3 separate regions of the Homo sapiens genome follow, and all the other regions are linked to region 1. Evidence: promoter capture Hi-C in 16 types of primary human blood cells and fetal thymus (Javierre and others, 2016). All regions are on one chromosome and are shown on one strand. Each heading gives the region's core, a stretch centred on a gene start or on the middle of the fragment in contact. The rest is flanking DNA. Distances are from core to core; before and after follow the strand shown.

Region 1 (5,020 bases), core at 1,590-4,089:
CCCAGGCTGGAGTGCAGTGATGTGTTCTTGGCTCACTGTAACCTCCTGCTCCCGGGTTCAAGCGATTCTCCTGCATCAGCCTCCCGAGTAGCTGGGACTACAAGCATGCGCCACTACACCTGGCTAATTTTGTGTTTTTAGCAGAGACGGGGTTTCACCATGTTGGCCAGGGTGCTCTTGAACTCCTGACTTCAAATGATCCATCTGCCTTGGCCTCCCAAAGTGCTGGGATTACAGATGTGAGCCACCACACCCAACCAACTTTTCTATGAACATAGTTCTGTATCTTCAGGATCCTGTAAACAACACAAAGAGCTGGGATTCTGCCTTCTTTGAAGAACCTAAATACTGTAATATCCAACTTACTAGTCTTTCGTTGATGATCGTGTAGAAAAATGTGGAAAAAATGATGTTGACTGAGAAAGGTTAGGGCCAGATCTTGTTTTCCTTAACAATCCATTTAAATCTGTCCTCTGAGAATGTATCTAAACCCTTTGAAACTTAGGTGACACATTAAATTAGAGTTAGTTTTTTTCTTTTGAGATAGAGTCTCACTCTGTCACCCAAGCTGGAGTGCAGTGGTGTGATCTAGGCTCACTGCAACCTCCAACCCCCAGGTTCAAGTGGTTCTCGTGTCTCAGCCTCCCAAGTAGCTGGAATTACAGGCGCCTGCCACCTTGCCCAGCTAATTTTGGATTTTTAGTAGACATGGGGTTTTGCCATGTTGGCCAGGCTAGTTTTGAACTCCTGACCTCAACTGATCCACCCACCTTGGCATCCCAAAGTGTTGGGATTTCAGGCGCAGTCAAAGTGTTGGGATTTCAGGCGTGAGCCACTGTGCCCGGCCTAGAGTTACTTTTTTTTGAGACGGAATCTCACTCTGTCGCCCAGGCTGGAGTGCAGCGGCGCGATCTAGGCTCACTACAACCTCCACTCCCCAGGTTCAAGTGATTCTCCTGCCTCAGCCTTCCGAGTAGCTGGGATTACAGGCGGCTGCCACCGCGCCCGGCTAATTTTTGTATTTTTAGTAGAGACAGGGTTTCACCATCTTGGCCAGGCTGGTCTTGAACTCCTGACCTCGGGTCTCCCACCCGCCTCGGTCTCCCAAAGTGCTGGGATTACAGGCAAGAGCCACCACATCCAGCCTTTTTTTTGTTTTTTGTTTTTTGAGACAGAGTCCTGCTCTGTTGCCAAGGCTGGAGTGTAGTGGCATGATCTCGGCTCACTGCAACTTCTGCCTCCCAGATTCAAGCAATTCTCCTGCCTCAGCCTCCCAAGTAGCTGGGACTACAGGTGCACACCACCACGCCCAGCTAATTTTTGTACTTTTAGTAGAGAAGGGATTTCGCCATGTTGGCCAGGGCGGTCTTGAACTCCTGACCTCAGGTGATCAGGTGATCCATCTGCTTCTGCCTCCCAAAGTGCTGGGATTACAGGCATGAGCCACCACGCCTGGCCCTAGAGTTACTTTTTATATTTTATTTATTTTTATTTATTTATTTTTTTGAGACAGAGTCTTGCTCTGTTGCCCAGGGTGGAGTGCAGTGGCGCGATCTGGGCTCACTGCAACCTCAGCCTCCCAGGTTCAAGCGATTTGCCTGCCTCAGCCTCCTGAGTAGCTGGGACTACAGCCATGTGCCACCACGCCCAGCTATTTTTTTTTTTTTTCCGTATTTTTAGTAGAGATGGGGTTTCGCCATGTTGGCCAGGATGGTCTCAATCTCTTGACCTCGTGATCCGCCCACCTCAGCCTCCCAAAGTACTGGGATGACAGGTGTGAGCTGCCGCGCCCGGCCTACTTTTTATATTTTAAAATGACAATATGGAGCAGACCATAACAGTTCTGCCAGTCTGGAATTTAGTCTAGGCAGGGAGTTTGGAAATAGTACAACAATGGTTAAGCTTATCGAAGGAGCTAAATGCCAGGCACTGTTCTACTTCACTTAATCCTCCAATTGCCCAATGAGATGAGTATTGCTATTATCATCCCTATTTCACAGATGAGCAAATTAAGATGAAAATAAGTTAATCAGTGTGCCTATTTTTATAGATTAGTAAGTGGCAGTGCCAAAAATTGGAATCCGTGGTCCCCACTCTTAGCTACCTTACTATACTACCTCTTGCCATTCATTCTTGGCTTCAGGGAGCTTTGAATTTATCTGCATGGATTTGTAGCCAAACCACTGGGACCACTGATCCTTTTGTTACCTTTCTCTGGGCCTCCTTCACCAGCTTCTGGGTCAACTTCTGAGGGGTCATGACGTTCGAACTGCTTGGAATTCCTGAATACAGTGCATTATACATATGCTCTACACGTATCTATTATAGCCTTACAAGTTGGAGTTGTTTGTTATCTATTTAATGTGTATTTGTTTTGTCTCCCCAACTAGACTGGAAACACCTAGAGGACAGGGACAGTATCTTTCTCTTTCTGCAATGCTCCCAGTGCCTGGGGGCTAGGCTAGGACGCCAAGGGAGCTCATTAAAAGTTGTTGACAGTCTCTCCACCATCCTGTGCCCCACCCCGACCACTCCCCTCTTCCTCGGTGGCCACTCCACTTCCTCCTCCCGGGTCCCCGCCCCTTCTCGCTCCCTTTAGTTGAATCCTCACTGGTCTCGCCCCTTCTTAGTGGATTCCATCCTGCCCCCGCCCCCCGCGGCATCTTCAGCGTCCCCTAGCGACGAGGCGGTGGCTCCTAGCAACTGCATCCCGGCTCCCTGACGACGGCGCCACGCAGGGACACGTCAGCGCGCTATGGCCCCGCCCCCGGCGCCCGCTGGTCCCGCCTCCCCGCGCCTCGTTCGCCGCCGCTGTCGCCGCCGCCGCCCGAGACTCGCGCAGAGCAGTTATGGCGGATCCCGCAGCCCCCACGCCCGCAGCTCCCGCTCCAGCCCAGGCCCCGGCTCCAGCCCCGGAGGCAGTCCCGGCCCCAGCCGCAGCCCCCGTCCCGGCGCCGGCGCCCGCCTCGGACTCGGCCTCCGGGCCGTCCTCGGACTCCGGCCCAGAAGCCGGCTCGCAGCGCCTGCTGTTTTCTCACGACCTGGTGTCGGGCCGTTACCGTGGCTCCGTGCACTTCGGGCTGGTGCGCCTCATCCACGGCGAGGACTCGGACTCGGAGGGCGAGGAGGAGGGCCGCGGGAGCTCGGGGTGCTCCGAGGCCGGGGGCGCGGGCCACGAGGAGGGCCGGGCCAGCCCCCTGCGCCGCGGCTACGTGCGCGTCCAGTGGTACCCGGAGGGCGTCAAGCAGCATGTGAAGGAGACCAAGGTGCGGCGGGCGGGGGCTGGGCGGCGCGGGCGGCAGGGGGTCGGCGGCCGGGCCGAGGCCAGGGAAGGACGGCGTGCAGGGCCCTGCCCGGAGCGGTGCCACTGCAGTGGCCGACGCGGGAGGACAGCCCCAGTGGAGGGTACACTCCATGCAAAGTCATTGCAGCAGCTCTGGGCGCACACGCCAGCCAGGCACTGCTGGCCCGGGACCGGGCGGGCCCTGGGCTTCCCGACTTGAGGGGACTTCTAAGACATGTTATGCTGTGGTGTCGGCCTCGAGATTTAGAGACGTGGACCGACTCCCGTGGGGACTCAGGTTCTGGGGCGCGTTCGGCGTTACACCAGTGCGGCGTTTTGCTGACCCCCAAGGAGCTCGGTACTGCATTGTGCATCCAGAAATGAAGGCCGTGCCGGGTCCGTGCAGGGAGGGGTTGTGGGCATTCCAAAACAAAGATAGAGGTGAAAATCCCAGCCGAACCCAAGAAGTTCACTAGCTTACAGGCTGCATTATGGTGAAGCCACCCAGCCTCTTTTTGTTTTACCCTGCTGCCTCCTTTTAATTGCTGCAGGGAACTTTGTGAGTAAAATCATTAGCAATCAGAGCCCCGGTATGAATAGTACTTGGGGGGGAGGATTCTGACAGCTGCGACCGGGATTGATGACTCCTAAGTGCATATGGACTCCTTGAAAAAAATAATCCAGAACCCTGGGTAGAGGGGAGTCACCAATTTGGAAACCCGAAGGTTTTTTCTTGACCTGAAGCTGTTAAGCAGACATCTGACTCCCGTATGGTTTTTGGGGTGATGCTAGTGAGTATAGCAGTTTTACAAAACAAAGAGGCTTGTCATCATAAACCCGAAACCTTGAACCCGGGTTGGTTTGGTGGCTTGTTTTCCAGAATGTGAATTCCTATCAGTAATTGACACACACACACACACACACACACCCCCCTGTATCTCACACCCCTTCTTTCTCTCCTACTTCCCCTCCCCTTCAAGAAAACATTTCTAAGCAGGAATCAGGCCTACGCTGTTTTAGGTCCTTGGGAGGTTGAGAGGTCTGATTTCAGGGGAGGGCACTTTGGAAGTTGATCTGGGTTTCTCACACAGTGGGAGACAAAGACTACAGAGGAACGGGGTTTCATGTCAAACTACAAAGCGGGGTCTGTGACAACGGCTTGAGAAGGAAAAAGGCCCCACTCCAGAGAAGAGCACATGATCCATTTCCTAGAGGCAGAAGTGACTGCTGATACCAGCGGGGTCTTTTTGTTGGGGATGCACATACATCCACAGACACAAATCCACACACAGGACCCTGCTTCCCCTCAGAGAAATGTGAATCAGGCAACAGCTCTGAGACTTGGAAGGAAAATTATCAGTCCATTTACAAGAGTATTTGGAAAATATTACTTTTGTGCAACAGAATGCTTGTTAAAAATTACCCAGTATTGTGTCAGTAAAAGAGGGTTATTGCTGTATACTGTGTGACACCAGATGATTGCTGGTGTCTTTCTGTGAGTTTTTAAGAATGTTTTTCACCACCCATCTATTTGAGAGATTCGTGATTTTTGGAACGCAACTCATTTGACTGCAGCATCCTCTGTGTTGTGGCCTCCTGCCCTAGGACTCAGGGAGGTAGGCCCAGCTCACTACTGGGAGCCGCTATGTTTATCAGTTGTTGTTCCCGTCCGTCTTGACTTTGGTGGTTAACTTTGTTTGCAGTTATGCTCCGTTTGCCTCCTGCACTATGTGTAAT
Region 2 (5,020 bases), core at 1,548-4,047, 400 kb after region 1:
CAGCTCACTGCAACCTCCACCTCCTGGTCTCAGTTGGTCCTCCCACCTTTGCCTCCTGGAATAGCTGGGACCACAGGCATGCACCACCACACCTGGCTAATTTTTTTTGCATTTTTTGTAGACATGGGGTTTTGTCATGTTGCCCAGGCTGGTCTCAAACTCCTGGACTCAAGTGATCTGCCCACATCTGCCTCCCAAAGTGCTGGGATTACAGGCGTGAGCCACCGCGTCCGACGCCATGTGTGTTTCTTAAGTAGTGGTGCCAAGTCCATTCACATGTCTTTTTTTTTTTTTTTTTAAGTTCTGGGATACATGTGCAGAACATGCAGGTTTGTTATATAGGTATATATGTGCCATGGTGGTTTGCTGCACCTATCAACTCATCATCTAGGGATTTTTTTTTTTTTTTTTTGAGATGGAGTCTGGCTCTGTCGCCCAGGCTGGAGTGCAGTGGCGCGATCTCGGCTCACTGAAACCTCCGCCTCCCGGGTTCACGCCATTCTCCTGCCTCAGCCTCCCTAGTAGCTGGGACTACAGGTGCCCACCACCATGCCCAGCTAATTTTTTGTATTTTTAGTAGAGACGGGGTTTCATCGTGTTAGCCAGGATGGTCTCGATCTCCTGAGCTCGTGATCCGCCCGCCTCAGCCTCCCAAAGTGCTGGGATTACAGGCGTGAGCCACCGCGCCCAGCCCATCATCTAGGTTTTAAGCCCTGTGTGCATTAGGTATTTGTCCTAATACTTTCCCTCCCCTTGCCTCCCACCCCCTGCCATTCACATGTCTTACTCGAGTTTTTAAGCACTCTAGACTTATGTATCTTATTCCAGTTGCTGAGTATTATATGGCGGCACCATTCCACAGATTTGTACTTTGAAAAATTAGGCCAGTAAGGTTGACGAAGTGATTCTAAAGAATCTTGCCAACCTGGGGTCGGCCAACAATATTCTATAAAGCATGTGCTCCAGTGCTGCACTGTCCAGTGCAGTAGCCGCTCAACACATGTGGTTATTGAAATTTAAATTAATAAAACTTCCAGCCAGGCTCTGTGGCTCCTGCCTGTAACCCCAGCACTTTGGGAGGCCAAGACAGGTGGATCACCTGAGGTCAGGAGTTCGAGACCAGCCTGGCCAACATGGTGAAATAGCCAGGCGTGGTGGCGGGCACCTGTAGTCCCAGCTACTCCGGAGGCTGAGGCAGGAGAATCTCATGAACCCAGGAGGCGGTGGTTACAGTGAGACGAGATCACGGCACTATACTCCAGCCTGGGTAGCAGAGCAAGACTCTGTCTCAAAAACATAAAATAATAAAAAGATAGATAAATTAATAAAACTTCCGAGTGCTCAGGTGTTCATTGGACGGTGCACGTAGAGGACATTGCCCGTGGCAGAGAGTTCTATTGGATGGTGCTGCTCTGGTGGTTCCAGGAGTGAATGGTGGCCGTGTTTGCTTTACTAGATTTATAGCATGAATGAGCCCCAGTTCGTTCCCAAGTTAGTGAACAACAGGAAAGTCAAGTAACTTATAAGTGGAAAAGTATGTTTGATTTGTATTGGGTAAGTTACAAGGAAGATTTTTTTTTTCACACTGGAGACTAAGAAAAGAGAAGAAATAGATTCTTAAGAGAACTTTTAAGAAAAGCTTTCTTAAGAGAAGAAAAAGGGTTTTTCTTTAAGCCCCTGTTCCCCCAACCATCTCTTAAAGGGGTGGGCAGCACTGGGTTTTCGTTTGAGCTTTCTTAGAGGTCAGTTGAATATTAACACATTTTTTCAGATTGAGTGTTAATTTCTATGGGAAGTCAAATACCATAATGGAATGTTGATGTTTTAATTTCACAGTGGGTCTGCCAGTCACACAGGTTCATCCCCTTTCTGCCTTTTGTCCATTTCTATCTGCTCGGTCAGATTCTTTGGGACGATAATGTGGCTTGGCAGGTATTCAGTTAGTGAATCACTTTCTCACTTACCCTAGCTGTGTAGCAGACAGGTGACACCCAGTACTTGTGCAAAGACTGTCGTCTCATGCGTGTCAACCTTGTATGTCCTAAAAATTGTTCTCAGAGTAGTCATGTGGAATATCTGAGTGCAGCACGTCTGTGGCGAAAAGAACTTAGTGTGATATTTAGGAGAACTGTCTTTTTGGTGGGTATTGATTAGTCTTTTTTATTATTTCCTTGTACCTAAAAGAAACAATCTTTGAGTTGGGTCACATTTGTAAAAGGTAATTGTGTTGGCATACAGTAGAGCTTGACAAGTTTGTTCTGGAAGGAAAAGATAAGGAAAGTTCTGGTGTGCTGTGCTTCAGTGTAGAGTGTCCCAAGTCCAGTCTGTAAGGCCCCTCAAGGGGTGCCAGGTCCTGAGCAGAGGGTGAAGCGCTGCAGGGAAGTAGCAGGAAGCTGTGCTGGGAAGAGACGTAAAGCCTTTGCTAAGTCTCAGATCAGTTATGCAGACAGCTTTTTCAGCATGTTTGCTTTTAAAAATAGAACTCCCCTTTCCATATGAATAATGAATGACTAAGGCTATGAGAAACCATTATATGGTAGAGAACAGTAACAATTAAAATGATATCTGGTGTGGCGTGCGTGAGTGAGTGTGTGGTTGGGGGACTCCATGTGCGATTTTGCTCCTCTCCCATTAGGTGACTATGGTTTGCTCAAAGGAAAGTCTCTTACTTTGATCTGCCCTTGTTTAGGCTGAAAGCGAAGAAACTAAGGAGCGCCTGTTTGAATCAATGCTCAGCGAGTGTCGGGACGCCATCCAGGTGGTTCGGGAGGAGCTCAAGCCAGATCAGGTAGGACCCTCAGCCGAGCCCTGGTTCTTGCTCTGGGCGGGTCCAGGTCAGCCTGTGTCCCCTTCTCAGGTGGACCCCAGTGCTCTGAGTGCACTGCTCGCTTGGCCACTGTTTCGTTTTTGTTTTTTTGAGGTGAGGTCGTAAGGGAGCAAACAAGGGCCTCTGGGCTCCATCACATTGAGAAATTAATTTCTCCCTCCCCTGTTCCTCCTAATGGTTTCCTATATGGCCTGTGAAGCCTGTGGCCTCCAATTCTGTCTCCAGGTGGACTTCTCCAGTGCCTCCCTTTTCTGAAAACACTATCCCTGTGGTTGATTCAGGCATCTAGGCTGAAAACCTCAGATCTATTTGTCTCTTTTGTCCCTGTCACCAAACCCACCTTCTTCTCCCTTTGCAGGGCCTCTTGCCTATTGTTGCTTCACCTGTTTCTATTAGCCTTTTCTCGTGTGCCTAGGCAACCGCAAAGGTCTCCTAATTGCTTCTTCTGGCTTGGTCTCGGTTCCCTTCTCCAGGCCTTTCTTTCGCAAAGTACAAATGGAATCTTTCTAAATCTAGTTTCCCTGTCTAATTTTAAAAAGCCCAGTGATTTCCTCTAGGGATTGAGCAATGGCCTCCAAACTTTTATGCTGATAAACCCCATAGGCAGCATTGAGCCTGCACCACTGATGCATTTATTTATGAATTATATAGCTTATTATTTGACTAATTTGTCATATATAAACTGCATTAAAATAAGGGCTTTTTTGAATGAGATAAATAGAAATAGAAATTCTAATTTTCGTTTCATACCCAGACTCCCTGGGTTTTATGCGCCCTACTTAGAGACCACTGGCCTCTCAGTTCAGACTTGAGCTGGTGTACAAGCCTTCCTTAGTCTGTTCCCAGCCTTGTACTTCACTGCATCCTTCTGAGTCCTCTGCCTCAAGCTGTTCCACTTACTGGCATCTCAGTAATGCCTTTCCCACCCCGTGTGTTACACTGTTCTCATTCCCCTCCCTCCGCACACTTGGGTAATCTTTCCTGCCCCTCTTCACCTGTCCAAACCCCATCTGTTTTTCAAGGTCCAGCTCATAGCTTACCATTTCTGAAAAGCATATGCCTGCACCATCCTAGCCCACAGAGATCTCTGCAGTTTCTAAATATCTGATACTTGCAGCTATAAGCTTTGATAGTTAATTAAGTATTACCTCTTCATAAAAACTTTATTGTGGTAAAAAACGTTAAACATAAAACCTTAACCATTTTTAAGTGTATGGTTCAGTGGTAATTAAATGCATTCATAACGTACAACCATCACCAACAGTCCATCTCCAGAACTCTCTGCATTTTGTAAAACTGAAACGCTGAACCCATTAAACAACAATAACTTCGTTGCCTAGCAACTATTTTTTTTTCAGCATCTGCCACAAAGCCTTGAGTATAAACTTTGTTTTGAATCACTGCTTTCTCTAAGGAGTCACCTGCTTCCTTGCCCCGTTAGGCTGCCTTTATGTATTGTGCTTCCCTTCATCGACTTAACAGAGGTGCCTACAGAGTCCCAGCCCCTGTCACTGTCATTCACCTTGAATGCATAGCAGTTGGGAGACACCTCACAGAATGTAAGGAATGTGATGCCGCAAAGGCGCATTCATTTCCTGTTGCTGCGATCATATTAACCACAAACTTGATGGTTTAAGATGATCCAAATGTATTATCTTACGCTTCTCGAGGTCAGAAATCTAGTGGGTTCACAGGGCTGTGTTCCTTTAGAAACCCTAGGGGAATCCTTTTCCAGTATTCCCAAGAATGCATCTCCTGGCTTCTAGCGGCTGCCTGTAGTCCTTGGCTTGTGGCTCTCCGTTTGTGCTTCAAAGCGATCAGCTCCTCTCCCCTCTGCTTCCGTTCCTTCATCTTCTGCATCTCTGACCCATCTGCCTCCCTCTTCTCAGGACCCTGGGATGACATTGGACCCACCCAGATAATTCAGAGATCCCTAATTTAATCACATCTGTAGAGTCTCTTTTACCATATATGGTAACATCTTCCCAGATTGCACGGAGGCTAGCATATAGACAGCTCTGGCGTATGTTATTCGGCCAGCCACAAAAGGCACACTCTGACAGCACAAGGGGTGGAACTGGGATCTGTGGCACAGACCTTCACACAGAGCCGTGGACTGTGGAATGTCTGATTTTAATGCTTTGGGGTTAGGCACGGGGAGGAGTGGACAGGAAGTCTCATCTGGCCGTTACT
Region 3 (5,020 bases), core at 1,599-4,098, 290 kb after region 1:
ATTAGCCTCTCCCTCAAGGTCTTGCTATCGCCCTTTGCATCCATATTTTCCCTTCCCATCTTTTTCCTTGCCAACTTCTTCTTCTTTTTCTTTCTCTTTTCCATTCCTTTATTTGTATAATGTCTGAACTCAAATTGGATTATATAGCAAATGCCTAGATTTTAATGCATGCCCTTCCATCCTTTTTCTAGTCTGTGCCTTCTTAATTGTCCATAATAGTATGCTGCAGTGCAAGTATTATTATTGTATTTGTGAAATTTTATGTTCCCTGTTGTATATAATGATGGGTGAATTAAATATTTGATTTTCTTTCTTCTCTCAAAGAGAAAACATAAGTAAATAAAAGCATCTTTTACTTATCCAGGCCTTTGATTTTTTTTCTCATTATGAATCGGTAGTCCTTGGTTACCAAAAGAGGTAAGATTGGAGGGAGTTCCCACTCTTGTCTCTCAGTAGAGACAGCCTGTCCTTGAACCTTTCTGTTTGCTGTTCAGGTAGACGGGGTCAGCTACCTCCTTCAGGAGATCTATGGAATTGAAAACAAGTACAACACACAAGATTCTAAGGTAAGTTTTACCCAAAATTCTGAATGTACTCTTTCCAGGAGGCCAAGTGAGAAATCGTAAGCCAGCGTCCAGAAATTTAGCGTGCCAAACTCTGAAATCAGTTAGGTCTTAGAAGGGTATTTTCTTGTTCCTCATTTCAGATCATTACGCTTTTACCACTTTGGAAATGAGAAAAGTAGGCTGGTTTGGCTTTGTTCTGCCACAGAGCTCTGTCCAACTCGGTTTCCACCAGGGCCCTTTCTTTGCTCCTTTTCCTTTATCTGTGTGATCCCCTAAGTCCCTTCAGCTGAGATTTGAGAGGCCCAGCTCTGGGCCTTATAGGAGGAGCTCGAGTGGTTAGTCTCGTCCTCTCAATTTTAGATAAACACTTCCCAGAAGAAGTGAAGCTAAGTGTGTGGACGCACTGGGAAAATGACAAAGTCCAATGTCAATGCAGATTTTGTTCGTAATTATTACTTATCTTAGCTCTTCAGCCACGCTGCCTTGTCAGTAAAGTATGGGACAGGAAGGGCTTTGTGCCATTGGCTACATTTCTTTCTCCTTGGCCAGGTGGCTGAAGACGAAGTGAGTGATAACAGTGCCGAGTGTGTGGTGTGTCTCTCGGATGTCCGGGACACCTTGATTCTGCCCTGTCGCCACCTCTGCCTCTGTAACACCTGTGCAGACACGCTGCGCTACCAGGCCAACAACTGCCCCATCTGCCGACTGCGTAAGCCCCAGAGCGGCAGGGGGACTGGTGGGTGGGAGAGGGGACAAGAGGACATTTACAAAACACTGAAGCATGTGCTGCTGCTGGATCTGACAAACGGATGCGCGCTGGGAGGGATCATGGTTTCTGTCTGGGCTCTTGTTCATTCTTAATCCTGTATCAGGATGTCCTGATTGCCTGTTTTCTCCTTCACAGCCTTCCGGGCACTGCTTCAGATCCGAGCCATGAGGAAAAAATTGGGCCCCTTGTCCCCAACCAGCTTTAACCCCATCATCTCATCCCAGACATCTGACTCTGAAGAGCATCCAGTAAGTTGGGCTCGGAACCACGGCCCCTCTGAAGCAAATGCCTCATTGGCTTTTTTAAACTTTTCATGCTTCTCTACGTGGCATTGCAGCAAGGAATTAGACCAGGGCATGCTGCAGTATTTAGCAAGCCGGCTGAGAGCATGCGTTAAAACCAACTTATTACTGTGGAAAATTGAATACTGAAAACCTCCCTTTTCCTCCTTGGGAACTTGGTGTCCAGTTAATGTTTACCATTCCTAGAGCCATCTGCTTGCAGTTTCACTCCAGTGAGGTTCAACTTGAACTCCCCCAGGCAGAAACAATGGGACGATTATTTTGGATTTAAATACAATTTATTATCTTTATTTGAATCCTCGAAGAAAGTAACTGTTTTTCTTTATCCTGTTTTGTGGCCTCAGTGCCTGAGATAAAGTAACTGACTTCAGTTTCCTAGTGTAAGTGCTGATATTAGGGTGAAACCTCAAAGCTTTGCAGTTAGAGAGCAGCAGATACTGTCTTTCTTTAGACTAACGCACTGCTGGGAGAGATTATTATTTAGTGAATGGTATTGGGATAATTAGTTAGCTATTTCAGGAGGAAAAATTAGTTTAGCACTTTACTCCTTACCAAATAAATTCCAGCTGGAGTAACTAGTTAACTATATTAAGAGCATCAAACCAAACAAACATTACAGCAAACCAAGCAAAACATTCAAAATCTAGAATAAATTATAGATGATTATTTAGTTGACTTTGGATTGGAAAGGATTCTCTAAGCTTGAAAGCAAGAACCATACATTTTACCACCTAAAAAGTTTAGCACTTCAGAGGTCTAAAAGGTAACCAAAATTAAAAGTTAGACAACAAATAGTGTTTTTTTAAAAACTATTTACAATGTGTGTATCAGAGGAAAAGCTAATGTCTTTGCCATAGTTCATATTGAATAAAACAGTAGATAAAAGGGCAAAGGGCATAAACAAAACACACTCAACATAGAATTTTTTAAAAAGTTCAACCACATTAAAAATCAATGATATGCAAATATGAGAATACCATTTTCCAACTTTCAAATTTTAAAAACTTTTCTTTTTAGCGATTCTCCCTGCTTTCGGGGAAGCAGTCAGAATAGGTCTTCTGTATTACTTATAGGAGTGTAACTAGAAAAGGCACTGAAAAAAAAAACAGCAGAAAACAGCAGTATATATCAAGGCCTTAAAAACATTTATACCTCATCATCTAAGAGCTAATAATTTAATAACAAGAACATAATTTGAAAAAAAGGCATTCAAGGATGTTCATCAAAACTTGTTTACAATAGGATGTGTTAGACACAACTAGATTCCCAGCACTAGGAGAATAGTTAGAAAACTTAGGGGATCTATGAGAAGGGGACATATATAAAGAGGCTTCAGAAACAAAGGAAAATATTTATGTTCTGGCCAGGCATGGTGGCTTACATCTGTAATCCTAGCACTTTGGGAGGCCATGGTGGGAGGATCAATTGAGACCAGGAGCTCAAGACCAGCCTGGGCAACATAGTGAGATCCCATCTCTATTTTTTTAAAGAGGAAAGTATAATAAAATAAGCAGAATATAAAATTGTTATTTACAGATTGATCAAAACTGTGTAAATAGTACACAGAAAAAAAATGGGAAGAAGAGACACCAGAATGCTAACAAAAGTAACTTTGGGTGATTTGATTACTGGTGATTTTTTTTCCTTACTTTTACTTTTATGTATTTTCCAAATTTCCATTATAATCAGAAAAAAAATAGAGATTATTAAGAAAAAGCTTACCAATAAGCAGGATCTACAGTGTGTGATTCTTTGATATTTTATCTCTGCCTCTAGTACAGTTGTTCTTACCAGACCCCCCCAAGAACAGATATAAAACATTTTTTTCAGTGTAGAGAAGTAGCATGATCACGTCATAAAACAAAAAGGACCTAATTAATTTTTCAACCTGTCTCTGATTCCCCTAGTCCTCAGAGAATATTCCACCAGGCTATGAAGTAGTATCTCTTCTGGAGGCCCTCAACGGGCCCCTCACCCCGTCCCCAGCAGTTCCTCCACTTCACGTGCTTGGAGATGGCCACCTCTCAGGAATGCTCCCTTCATATGGCAGTGATGGCCACCTGCCCCCCGTCAGGACGATCTCGCCTCTTGACCGCCTGTCTGACAGCAGCAGTCAGGGACTCAAACTCAAAAAGAGTCTCTCCAAGTGAGTAGCCAGTGCTCCACACTGTTGCCCCCGGAATCCTTGATGAAATGCTTCATCCCTCCTTGGTGCTGGCCCACATCCTGGGGACTTAGGGCAGAGTAACCCTCTGGGCTGTTCCCAGAGCTGCTTGCGTGAAGGTTATCCCATCCATTAAGAGATGAAAATAAGATGGTATGTAGGTACTTAAGAAAACTCTGATGAGACAAATCTCTTATGTATTCTTTTTTTCTTTCAAGGATAGGGGATGGGATATAGGGAAGAGGATGTTGAACACTGTGGATAGGGCCTTCTAGGCCCCTGGGAGCATTGCTTAGTCCGAAGACTGAAGGAACCTTGTGATCCGTATCTCTTAAACATCTAAATCCAGCTAGGCACAAATCATGACAAGGTTTCTGTGGCAGAGTAAAGGGGAGGGTATTTTACAGATGAAAATATTGAGACCCTGTAAATGGCAGTGGTTTTTCCCAAGTTTAGATAGCAAGTCATCAGAGGAGCTAAAAGTAAAACTTAGCGCTTCTGACACCCAAAAGAGGTCTCCATCCCTCTCTGGTTCTATTTCCCTAGTCCTACTTAAGATTTGGGTTTCGAGCCAGGCAAGTTAGCCCAGACCTACTCGGCTACTCAGGAGGCTGTACTCCTCCTCTGTTAAAGCGTCAACAAGAGGATCGCTGAAGCCCAGGAGTCCCAGCCCAGCCTGGGAAACATAATGAGATGCTGTCTCAAAAAATAAACAAGCAAAAAATATTTGGGTTTTCCCCTCAGCTCCCCTTGCAGTAAGTTCTGTTCTTTAAATGGACGTTGGATATAGCTGCTTTTCCACTGGACTCCTACAGATCCACTTCCCAAAACTCTTCCGTGCTGCATGAAGAGGAAGATGAGCATTCCTGCAGCGAGTCGGAGACACAGCTCTCTCAGAGACCGTCGGTTCAGCATCTCGGAGAGGTAATTGACATTCCTCTCCTCTTCTTGGGTGTTGTACTCCAGGGACTTCCCTCCTACCTGCATGCCTCATCAGGTCCCTCTGCTCTCATTCACTCATCAAACACCTTGTCAGCACCCTCTGAGGCAGTGGCAAAGGTTTCACTGGATTCATGCATTCAACAGTGTATGCAGCCTGTATTATTTGCCAGGCACTGTGCTATATGCTGAGGATAGTAGCTGGGACACTACAAAAGTCCCTGCCCTTGTAGCATTTATATTCTTGCTATCTGGGGTGGGGGGCACAAAAGACAATAGG

The links. Contacts are between HindIII fragments. The CHiCAGO score rates a contact against its expected background, and 5 or more counts as called.
Region 2: a fragment that was not itself captured here is called in contact with the fragment with the promoter of UBE2O in region 1 in 2 of 17 cell types (M1 macrophages and M2 macrophages); the score reaches 6.0 in M1 macrophages.
Region 3: a contact is called between a fragment that was not itself captured here and the fragment with the promoter of UBE2O in region 1, in 1 of 17 cell types (M1 macrophages). The highest score is 5.2, in M1 macrophages.

What each region holds. Positions count from the first base shown.
Region 1 is chr17:76,450,971-76,455,990 of GRCh38, reverse strand. UBE2O (ubiquitin conjugating enzyme E2 O) reads left to right here and starts at 2,839. Exons shown (of 18, transcript NM_022066.4): 1 at 2,839-3,266. The coding sequence starts at 2,850. It also overlaps a transcript of AANAT not described here. RefSeq lists silencers at 2,665-2,833, 2,628-3,167, 3,288-3,487. The HindIII fragment of the contact is 7,923 bases long and covers 1,905-5,020 here.
Region 2 is chr17:76,048,196-76,053,215 of GRCh38, reverse strand. SRP68 (signal recognition particle 68) reads left to right here. Exons shown (of 16, transcript NM_014230.4): 9 at 2,690-2,788. Among named protein-coding and RNA genes, the nearest start is that of SRP68, 22 kb to the left of the region's middle. RefSeq lists a silencer at 4,987-5,020. The HindIII fragment of the contact is 2,312 bases long and covers 1,642-3,953 here.
Region 3 is chr17:76,158,098-76,163,117 of GRCh38, reverse strand. It overlaps RNF157 (ring finger protein 157), which reads left to right. Exons shown (of 19, transcript NM_052916.3): 9 at 495-566; 10 at 1,116-1,275; 11 at 1,471-1,583; 12 at 3,545-3,783; 13 at 4,617-4,725. Among named protein-coding and RNA genes, the nearest start is that of FOXJ1, 19 kb to the right of the region's middle. The HindIII fragment of the contact is 1,016 bases long and covers 2,341-3,356 here.